2 separate regions of the Homo sapiens genome follow, and region 2 is linked to region 1. Evidence: promoter capture Hi-C in human tissues and cell types (Jung and others, 2019). All regions are on one chromosome and are shown on one strand. The core of a region is centred on a gene start or on the middle of the fragment in contact, and the rest is flanking DNA. Distances in the headings are between cores, read along the strand shown.

Region 1 (5,113 bases), core at 1,055-3,554:
AGAATGGCTTGAACCTGGGAGGCGGAGATTGTGGTGAGCCGAGATCGCGCCATTGCACTCCAGCCTGGGCGACAAGAGCGAAACTCCATCTCAAAAAAAAAAAAAAAAAAAAAAAATTAAAGTTGGTGAGCAATAAGACAGAGGAAAAACAAAAATAGGAAAATGAAAGGCAGACAGAAAATAAGCCTGGTACGTTAAATGTAAACTATGAAAACCTACCTTTTGCTGAGAGTGGGGCATGAATGTAGACCTCATATCTACCATGGATGCTTGGGGGAAACCTGATCACCACAGCATATGTCAGTGGCTGCATGTCCTCAGGGCTGGGCTGCCTGGCCCAAATCGAGTCCATGATCTAGGGGCAGGAACTTTCCACAGCTCGGGCTTTTTGTAGTAAACCAGAGTTGAAGGCTAAACTAAAGTTTAAAAAATTATTTCTTTTCCCTTATAGTTTTGTCAATTATAAGTCAGAAGGAAATTAAAAGACTCTGACTTTAAATAGCTTCCAATTTTTCAGTAACAGTTAAAAAAAACCTACTTACATATTAAGAAAAGTGGAGCAAATTCTAAATAAAGGTAACCCAGTGAGATCGAGACAACTGGGAACAGTCTGGGGAGGCTGACCTCAAAAAGACAAGACACACATTGTTTCACTCGGAAATCTTTTTCCCCTTAAATTTCCTAAAGAAAGCAGAGATCTTGCATGCTTGCCACTGACTTGGAAAGCTAAGTGCACCTTAGAATGGATATTCTTGGCTCCATCTTTTGAAAACTTAGAGACTACACCATTAGAAAGAACGGAATACCGTCAAGGGTTTTAGTGATGGGTTCTTCAAGGCCCCAACTTTCTGCACATGAGAGTGTAGCATCAAGACAACCCCTTATCAGCCTGACTCTCAGTGTAAGGCCGTCTGACTGCAGGGGAGCCTTGCTTTACTCAGAGAGGCCACGGATCTTCTCTTTGCCTTCTAGCCCCTGCAGAAGCTGTGCATGACAGAGTACTCTGTCTTTCCAAAGCTGATTTATAACTGAAGGAGAACAAAAACTTGGTCAGAATCATGAATGCCCTAGATGCCTTTGAAGAGTGGAGAGACATGACTGGACTAGGGTTGGACTGGAAGAGATGGTCAAGAAGGTACTTAAGAAAAGGGGTGTCTGCAAGGGAATCACCCAGAGTCAGAGGCAAAACAGCCAGGAGCAGCAGCTTTGAGGCAGGGTTGGATTCTTGCTCCGGCAGTTAGAAATGCTGCAAACTCAGACAAGTTGCTGTTAGCTCAGCGGTAGGATGAGCCCTGATCCCTTTTGCCCCAATTGCCTACTGGATTCAAGGAGAAAATGGACAAGAAAGGGTTCACAAACCATTCATATTAGAAACAGACAAATATCCATTATATAACCAATGTTCCACCAGCTCCAATGAGAAGTAAGTATAATAGCTACTATTTTTGAGCACCTATTTTGTGCCATGCTTTTTCATCTATGTGTTTGAAACTTTATGGTTATTATCAGCCCCACTTTACATAGAGGGGAACTGAGAATCAGAGAGGGCAAGTGACCCTCCAAAGTTCATTAGCTGTTAAAAGGCAGAGTAGGGATTTGAACTGTGAACCTTGTTTCATTTTAGTTTAATGAGGACAGGTTCTTCTGGTGTCAGCTGGGTTCAGCAGGGTGTCCCTGCACCCCTCGCCCAGTGGCTGGCAGAGGATTTTTAAGAAGAGAGGAGGGAAGGCAGAAAAAGACAGGAGTAGAACATGAAGAAGTCTACCTCGGGGCTCCATTTTGTTCCATGTTGCAGTGAGGAACAGAGGATGAACAACCACCGTGAGGGGACAGGCTGAGTTACCACCCTGGGGTGATTTAACAATTCAGTAATGTATGAGTGTCATTCCGTATGTTTGAACTCTCCATTTGCTTATTGGCACCATAGTCCCTTATCTCTCTCCCTCTCGAGTTTCTTTCTCTTCTTTGACCTTTCTAGCCTCCTTATTTCATGCGTGTACATTCTTGTCTTTTTCCTTCTGCCTCTTCCCTCTTCACCAGTCGGACAGACTGTATCAGCGAATCCCTCTACAGTGTCGTATCTAACTTTTTTATTCATTGCATGATTTATTTTTAGCCTGAAACAACTGCATCCTAAAAATGGAGTTCCTAATGAGACAGAGGCTGAGCAGAGCTATGTAAGGTATCTGGGGCTTGGCCTCCCAGCCTCCCTAGCTTGGCTGTTTTTCTACTCTCATGCGTGCGTGCGTGCGTGCGTGTGTGTGTGTGTGTGCCTCTGCTCTTTGTCCTGAGCCCACGATTCCAGAGCTGGCTGGACCCAAGGAGGTGAAGAGTCACTTTTCAGCCCCAGGAAGGGCAAAGAAGAGAGAAAATCAGCCTGTCTGCTCTCTCCTTGGCTCAACAAGGCCTCTAACAGTCTTCTGTCCTCTATTCTGCACACAGCATATTTGGGAACGAGAAACAAAAGTTTTCCCAAATGAAGAGAACTCACTTGTTTATTGTGGGGATTTATTTTCTGTCCTCTTGCAGGGCAGAAGAGGGGCTTAATTTCCCCACATATGATGGGAAGGACCGAGTGGTAAGTCTTTCCGAGAAGAACTTCAAGCAGGTTTTAAAGAAATATGACTTGCTTTGCCTCTACTACCATGAGCCGGTGTCTTCAGATAAGGTCACGCAAAAACAGTTCCAACTGAAAGAAATCGTGCTTGAGGTAAGTAACCAAAGGGCATGCTGTCTGCGCTGCCTCAGTGAGGTGCCGAGGGAATGCCTTTGGCCAGGGGTTGGGATATGGGAACGAGGATGCAGAGAATATATACTGAACTCTGCTTTATTTTGGCCTCACGTGAATCAGATGCCCTTGTCACACAGCTGGGATGTGTGAACAATGAGGGGTGGGTCCTAACTCTTCAAATGAAGAGGACCAAACGTGCTACACTACGATGGGTCTGATGTAAAGTCTTTATGGCCCCCTTGACTTTTCAAGGGCCCTTGTCCCAGCCATTGTTTCCCAGATAGAATGTAGAAACTATTGTTAAAACTGTTGGCTGAAATGAAATCCAGGGACTACTTGTGGATTTCATTCAGTGTGCCCACTTTGCTCCCTCAAATCTCCCCATGATCCTGGAGAGACCAGAGTTACTTGACCTTGCGTCTCTCTGGGGGTCAGACGGAGAATATCACTAAATGACTTTCCTCTCTCTTGTTTTGCGTCAGTCAGCATTACAGAATGTAGTTGTGTGCAGATCTTCTGAGCAGCATATTCATTTATGTGATTTTTTTTCTCAGAAAGTTCTTGGTGTGACTTTAGGGCAGAGCTGAAGTCAGTTCTTATTTTATCCGCATTACATGGCCTGCCTGTTTGTAACCTGGCACTGGGGCCCATTTTCTAATCCTTTGCGAGTGCCCCAGAAACTATTCCTGCAGCTCCTCCTGGACAGCTTAAGATGGCTTACACTTTAAGAGGGCCTGAGGGTGCCAAGAATGCTAGTGGGCACCAAGATGCCTCATCAGTCTCCACGCCTAGCCCAGGCGCAAACCTGTGAAAGGGATATTTGAGAATTACAGTTTATTAACCAGCACAATCAGAGAACTCAGGTTGATGAAATAGTTTAATAGGATTATCATATAAAACCCATGTGGATTTGAATTTTTTCAAATTGAAAAATTGACTGTAATAAAATCCAGCAAAACTATCCCAAATACATCAAAAGTATATCTCCAACCTTGGGTGCTGAATGTGGAATTTCAGTTCTCTCTGTGGGTTGCAAGAAAAGAGAAAGCAGGGATAGTTATTAAGACTTTATTTTATAGAAATGAGCAAATCACAGGCTGGAAAAGAACGAGACATAGAACTTAGCTGCTGCTTAGCACATGAAACCAACACTTACATTATATCTCCATCTCAAACTGCCATACTCAGTTATCAAGAGACATTGTTATGAAAACTTAATTGAAGGCATAAGGATTCTCCCCTATATGCTCATCGCTGTCCAGTTAGCCTAGAACTCCAAAAGAATGCCTTTGGGTGGCCAGTACAGGCAAGGACATTCATTTCTGATTCTAATTTTTTTTAAAAAAGAAATATCTTTCTATCATCCTTCTATCTATCTATCTATCTATCTATCTATCTATCTATCTATCTATCTATCTATCATCTCTAGCTCCCCCAAGTATATCTGTCCCCAAAGACTATGCAAAATCATGAACAGAAACTTCCCCTGGGCTTACCATCCCTCCAGACACCTTTGATCCAAGAGTGCCCTTTTCACAGTGGGTGCCGGCCCAGCAGAGACCGATAAGGAAAAGTTCACCACAGGAGTTAATTTGATGCCCCTCAGGCTGCTAAAGCTGGAGTGAGGCATCATTAGGAGAAAAAGAACACAGACCTTGAAGTCAGGATATCTGGATTTAAGTTCTGGCTTTGTCTCTACTAGGCACAGGACACAGGGCAAATTACGTAATTTCTCAGAGCTTCATTTTCTTATCTATAAATATGGAAAAATAGTAACTATCATGCAGCTTAAGAAATGATTAAATAATAATAATGTTGATTAAATGCTTACTAAGTGCAGGGACTGTTCTAAGCACTTGGTATGTGTTAGCTTGTTTAATCCTTACAATAATTCTATTAAGTAGGTACAGTTACCAATTCCATTTTATAGATGTGGAAACTGAAGCAGAGAGGCTAAGTTGTCCAAGGTCACACAGCTACTACAGATGAAGGCAGTTGTACGTAACACCTACACGGTACTACTCCTGAAATCAGTGCGAAAACGCCCAAGGGGCTTCTGGGTAGCCTGTTTAAGATGGTTTCAAGAGTCTTCCTTAAACAGAGTTGCTCAGCCTCTGGACCCGGGTCTGATGATGCCAGCTGTACACCAGCATGGCCGAGAAGTACATGGCCTGGAGGCGCTGCTCATGCAAAAGTGCAAACTGAGGAGGAGGCCTGGGCTCCATTAGTGAAGGTTGAGGAAGGGGCGGGCCTTTGTTGAGATACTTGTCAGGCGCAGCATCAAGGGAAAAAATGGCTCCGGGAAGTCCATGAGTGGAAAGAGCGAACATGCCTTTAAACTTTCTTCATGGTCAAAACATCTATTTTGTCCTCTTAATCCTC
Region 2 (4,776 bases), core at 1-2,500, 37 kb after region 1:
TCATCTTTATTTTTCCCCTTAGACTACAAGGCTTTTGAAGAAGCAGCTGAACACTTCCAGCCTTACATCAAATTCTTTGCCACCTTTGACAAAGGGGTAAGTACCTATGAAACCCCAATTTGAACAGTTTTGTAGGCATGAAGAATTAAAGTTTGAACTCTCACCACTCTTTCTTTTCTTTTAGCAACATTAACCATCCTCCCTTGCCTCTTTCTCTAGAAGGGTTAAGAATTATATCACTAAATCACTATTGGATTTAAGATGAGTACAAAGATGACTAAGTCAGAGGATGTAAGGATATTTATGAAAACATCCAAGGAAAAGTGATGACCCACCATTATCTTCTTATACACTGAGATGGGAAACGTGTGGGCCCAGAGTGTGCCAGCCCACTGAGCCACTGCTTCCTTTTTCCTTAGGGGGTATCCTCTCCCTTCCTGGGGTTGCATACTTCCCCTTCTACTGCGTCAGGATGGGAAGTAGAATGGGAACTCCTCTGTGATTAGTTCAAGCAAGTGTTCTGCGAAAAACAAGAGGAAGTCAGTGAGCTGAAGCAGGGAAGGGACGTGGTGGGATGAGATTGCATTCAGTTCATGTATATGATGAACCACTTCTGTAGACATGGCCCAGTCTTCAAGCCTATGATCCAGAAGAGTGCTCTATAATCCAAGTAACATAATCTAAACTTGAAGAATGTTTATCCTAATTAGTTGTATTACAGTTGGGAGGGATCTTGAGCAAGAATAATCAAAAAAGCTATCATGTATTAAGTGTCTATTATGGGCCAGGTGCTGTGGCTCACACCTGTAATCCCAACACTTTGGGAGGCTGACGGGGGTGGATTGCATGAGCCTTGGAGTTGGAGACCAGCCTGGGCAACATGGTGAGACCCCATCTCTACAAAAAATACAAAAATTAGCTGGGTGTGGTGGCACACACTTGTAGTCCGAACTACTTGGGAGGCTTGAGGTGGGAGGATCACTTGAGCCCAGGAGGTTGAAGCTGCAGTGAGCTGTGATCATACCATTGTACTCCAACCTGGGCAATGGAGTGAGATCCTCTCTCAAAAAATAAAAATATAAAAAATAATAAATTCAAAAAAATTTTTATGTGCCAGAGTCTGTGCTAAGAAGTCTCTTTGTGCCAGAGTGTGTGCTAAGAAGTTAACATGGATTTTCTCACTTCATCCTTTCAACACTCCCATAAGGGAGGAATTAGTATCCTCATTCTACAGAGGATGAAACTGAGGTGCTGAAAGATTAAGTGATTTTTTCATGATCATGTAGTTACTGAATTGAGAAGCTTGCTATAATCTCAGACCAGCCTGACTTCAAAGTCAATGCTCTGTCCTACTTTACTCCAGAGAAAGAAGCAATATATGCAAACTGCCTAGCTGGTTTTTGGCACACAGGAAGCATTCAGTAATAGTTAGCCAGCTATGAGCACCATTGTTCATAAGAAAGCAATCATCTAGGCCCAGGAAGTGGGAGGATTGGATAGGATATTAGTAGAGAAAGGGAGGAACAGAGAAGCCGAAACTGAATCCATTACTGACATATGGTTCTGATGGACCATTTGGTTCTAATGGACTAGGTGTGGCTAAAGAGGCTCCTGGGTAAGAATCCAGCTGAAAGGAATAGAGAGGCAGGCCAATTAATTTGTCCAGCAACAAAGCCTTAGTTTTTAGAGGGGTGGTTCAACGTTGAGCTCAGGGTAGTATTTGTTTGTAGAAGTGCCTCCTAGTGCAACTGTATAGCTTCATGCCTGTGGTCCATGAAAAAGGTGAGGTCAGGCTATGATTAAAAATTCAGAGAGATGCTTTATTCAAATTCTGTAGGACACTGAGTCATAAGTGCCAGTGTTCATGTAGCCTTGTTGGATTTCAGAATATTTAAAGAGACAAAGGTACACAGAGGGGAGAGCACTGAGAGGACTCTGATGCCATTTGGTGCTTAAGAACTTGCATCCATCAGTTGGGGTGGAGGGGGTGTCCAAGGGGAGATGGTGGAGTCCAGAAGGCATGACTGCACCTGGTAGAGCCTCAGTGGTTTCCAGCAGGGAGTGCTAGGACAGAAGAGGAGAAAAGTAATAAATGTGAAGTGGCTGAAAGGACCTGTTTGTACAACACATCCTAGGGAATCTCAGAGGGACCTGGAGGTGCTTTGTTGAGGTCTGAAACCAGGAGAGGCAAGGGACAAGAAAGCACTAATGCGGTCACAAAAATGCAAAAAACAACTGGCACTAGTAAAAGTGGATATAACAAGAAGATCTGGCCATTGATGAGATGATGAGAGAAGGCCTCAAAATAACTTAAGATAGCAAGTCTTGGCGTTAAGACAGCAAAAATTATGAAGCTACTGAAAACATTAGGAAATCCAGGAAGAAGAATCTATTGAGGAACAAGAGATGGGGTTATGAGTTCTATTTTCTAAAAGTTGGGGAAACATTCAACTGGAAATGTCCTTAATTAATTAATTAATTAATTCAGTCATTCACTCAACAAGTATTTATTGAGTGCCCTTTATGTGCCAGGCACTCTTCTTAGTGCCAGGGACACAACATTGAGCAAAGCAGATTCCTGCCCTTTAGAATTTAAAGTTTATTGTGGGAAAGAGAAGATGGAAAGACAGAAAGTTCAAAAGTAAACAAACCAATAAATACATCATATGAGTTGCAAGACTGTAAAGAGGGTGAGATGTCATGGCTGCTGATGTAAATTTGTCAGTCAGTAGTTCCCAACCACTATCCATATTAGTATCCTCCAACAAGCTTTTAAAACCATTGGTCTCTGGGCCCCAGCCCTGGAAATTTTAATTTTTTAGGGTTGTGGCAGTGTCTGGGAATCTGCATTTTCAAAAGCCACCCAAGGAATTTTAAAGGGTGTGGAGGTTTAGGACCAGTACTGATCTATTAATACTAATCCTAAATCAAGCCACACGAAGGCCCAACCTCTCTGAAGAAGCAGTTAGAACAAGAAAGTGTCAGAGGGCCAAGGATGGTTCCACTCTGCTGCACCTCACAGCCTGAAAAATATCAGTTCTTAAAATCCCATGTCCCCGCCCACTGACCTGTTCCTCTCTCTGTCTGAGTGAACAATGAGACGAAAAATCACTTTCTTTTTTAAATCACACTGGAGCCAAAGGGTGCTGTGACTAAACAAAGTTAGTGGAGAAGATAGATGTTGGGAAGACCTAAATTTAGTAATGGCAAAAACCATTACTTTTGGCAAAAACTGCGATTACTTTTGCACCAACCTAATACTTGAGTTGGTTTCATTGGCAACAACTAAAATGACTTGCTAACTGGAGGAAAAATGATTTGTATCAAAATTCATATACATGCACATGTCAGAAAATTGGCATTGTACTTTGTAGTTTTCTTATCTTTGTTGAAATCTATTCCAACTAGTTAACAGATAAAAGCATGAAAGAATTCATTTTTATGGACCCATTTGGTTCTTAATAATATAATTCATTCTTATATAATGCTAATACCCATGAACCAGATCTCCTCCTGGAATAATGCCTTGGGTTCAGTAGGCCCCACTAAATACTTACTGAATAAATGAATGAATAAAAGCTTCAACCAATCAAATCCCTTCAGTCCTTACCATCCAAGATAGGAATAATAAGAATGAAAGAGGGGGTCGGGCGCAGTGGCTCACGCCTGTAATCCCAGCACTTTGGGAGGCCGAGGGGGGAGGTGGATCACCTGAGGTCAGTAGTTCAAGACCAGCCTGGCCAACATGGCGAAACCCCATCTCTACTAAAAATACAAAAATTAGCTGGGTGTGGTGGCCTGTGCCCATAATCCCAGCTACTCGGGAGGCTGAGGCAGGAGAATCGCTCGAACCTGGGAAGCGGAGATTGCAGTGAGCCGAGACTGTGCCATTGAACCCCAGCCTGGGCAACAAGAGCAAAACTCTGTCTCACCAAAAAAAAAAAAAAAAAAAAAAAAAAAAGAATGAAAGAGAGGGATTCTCTGAGATACAAGATGAGAGCACTCCATGATGGTGGTAGGTAGACAGTGAAGAGATCCCTGGGAAATTTTTACTTAGCATTTCCAAGACTTAAATTAAGGACACGACAATCCAATTTTTACATTCTTAGACAGCACTGTGGACCCAGACATTGGCATTCAGAGACGAGACTATCACCACCACCAGGCGGGTTTGACTTCTGGCTCTGCTCCCTCCAGATATATGATCCTGACAAATTTCTTACCCAAATTGTGCCTCAGGTTCATCATTTGTAAAATAACTATGATAATCATTCTTACCACATACAATCAAAGTGAGAATTAAACAAAGAATCAACCTAAAACACCTGGCAGCAGTGCCTGGCACGTGATAAGCACTCCATATGTTTGTTATTATTACTGTTTTCATTCTGATCACTTCTCCTTTCATGGAAACAGTCTTCTGGTTCCTAGAATACATAGTAAGTGAACTCAGAAAACCAGAATTCAATGTCATTTTCTTGCCCACTCTGGCTCCCTGCCTCATCACCTCATCATCTACATCACCCCCCTACCCCTGAGAAGAGGGAAAAACAGTTAGAAAAAACTCCACATCTCCCTCTCTTAAAATTAACCTGACAATAAAATCTCCCTTGACTGACTATAGCTGTCAACATGGCCTGTTTTCTTGATCTCTGAGTAGGATGCTGGAATTTCTCTCCCTTAAGTACTATATGAAATGCCTTTCAGAATATAGTGACCTGGAATTCATAGCAATTGATGACAAAAACCATATGGATATCAATGTTTCCTCAGAAT

What was found. Contacts are between HindIII fragments. The study calls those that stand out against the background at their distance.
Region 2: a contact is called between a fragment that was not itself captured here and the fragment with the promoter of CASQ2 in region 1, in 1 of the 25 tissues and cell types used here (mesenchymal stem cells).

The regions. Positions count from the first base shown.
Region 1 is chr1:115,765,905-115,771,017 of GRCh38, reverse strand. It overlaps CASQ2 (calsequestrin 2), which reads left to right and starts at 2,304. Exons shown (of 11, transcript NM_001232.4): 1 at 2,304-2,710. The coding sequence starts at 2,477. The HindIII fragment of the contact is 10,019 bases long and covers 1-5,113 here.
Region 2 is chr1:115,728,221-115,732,996 of GRCh38, reverse strand. CASQ2 (calsequestrin 2) reads left to right here. Exons shown (of 11, transcript NM_001232.4): 5 at 23-96. Among named protein-coding and RNA genes, the nearest start is that of CASQ2, 38 kb to the left of the region's middle. The HindIII fragment of the contact is 3,849 bases long and covers 1-3,174 here.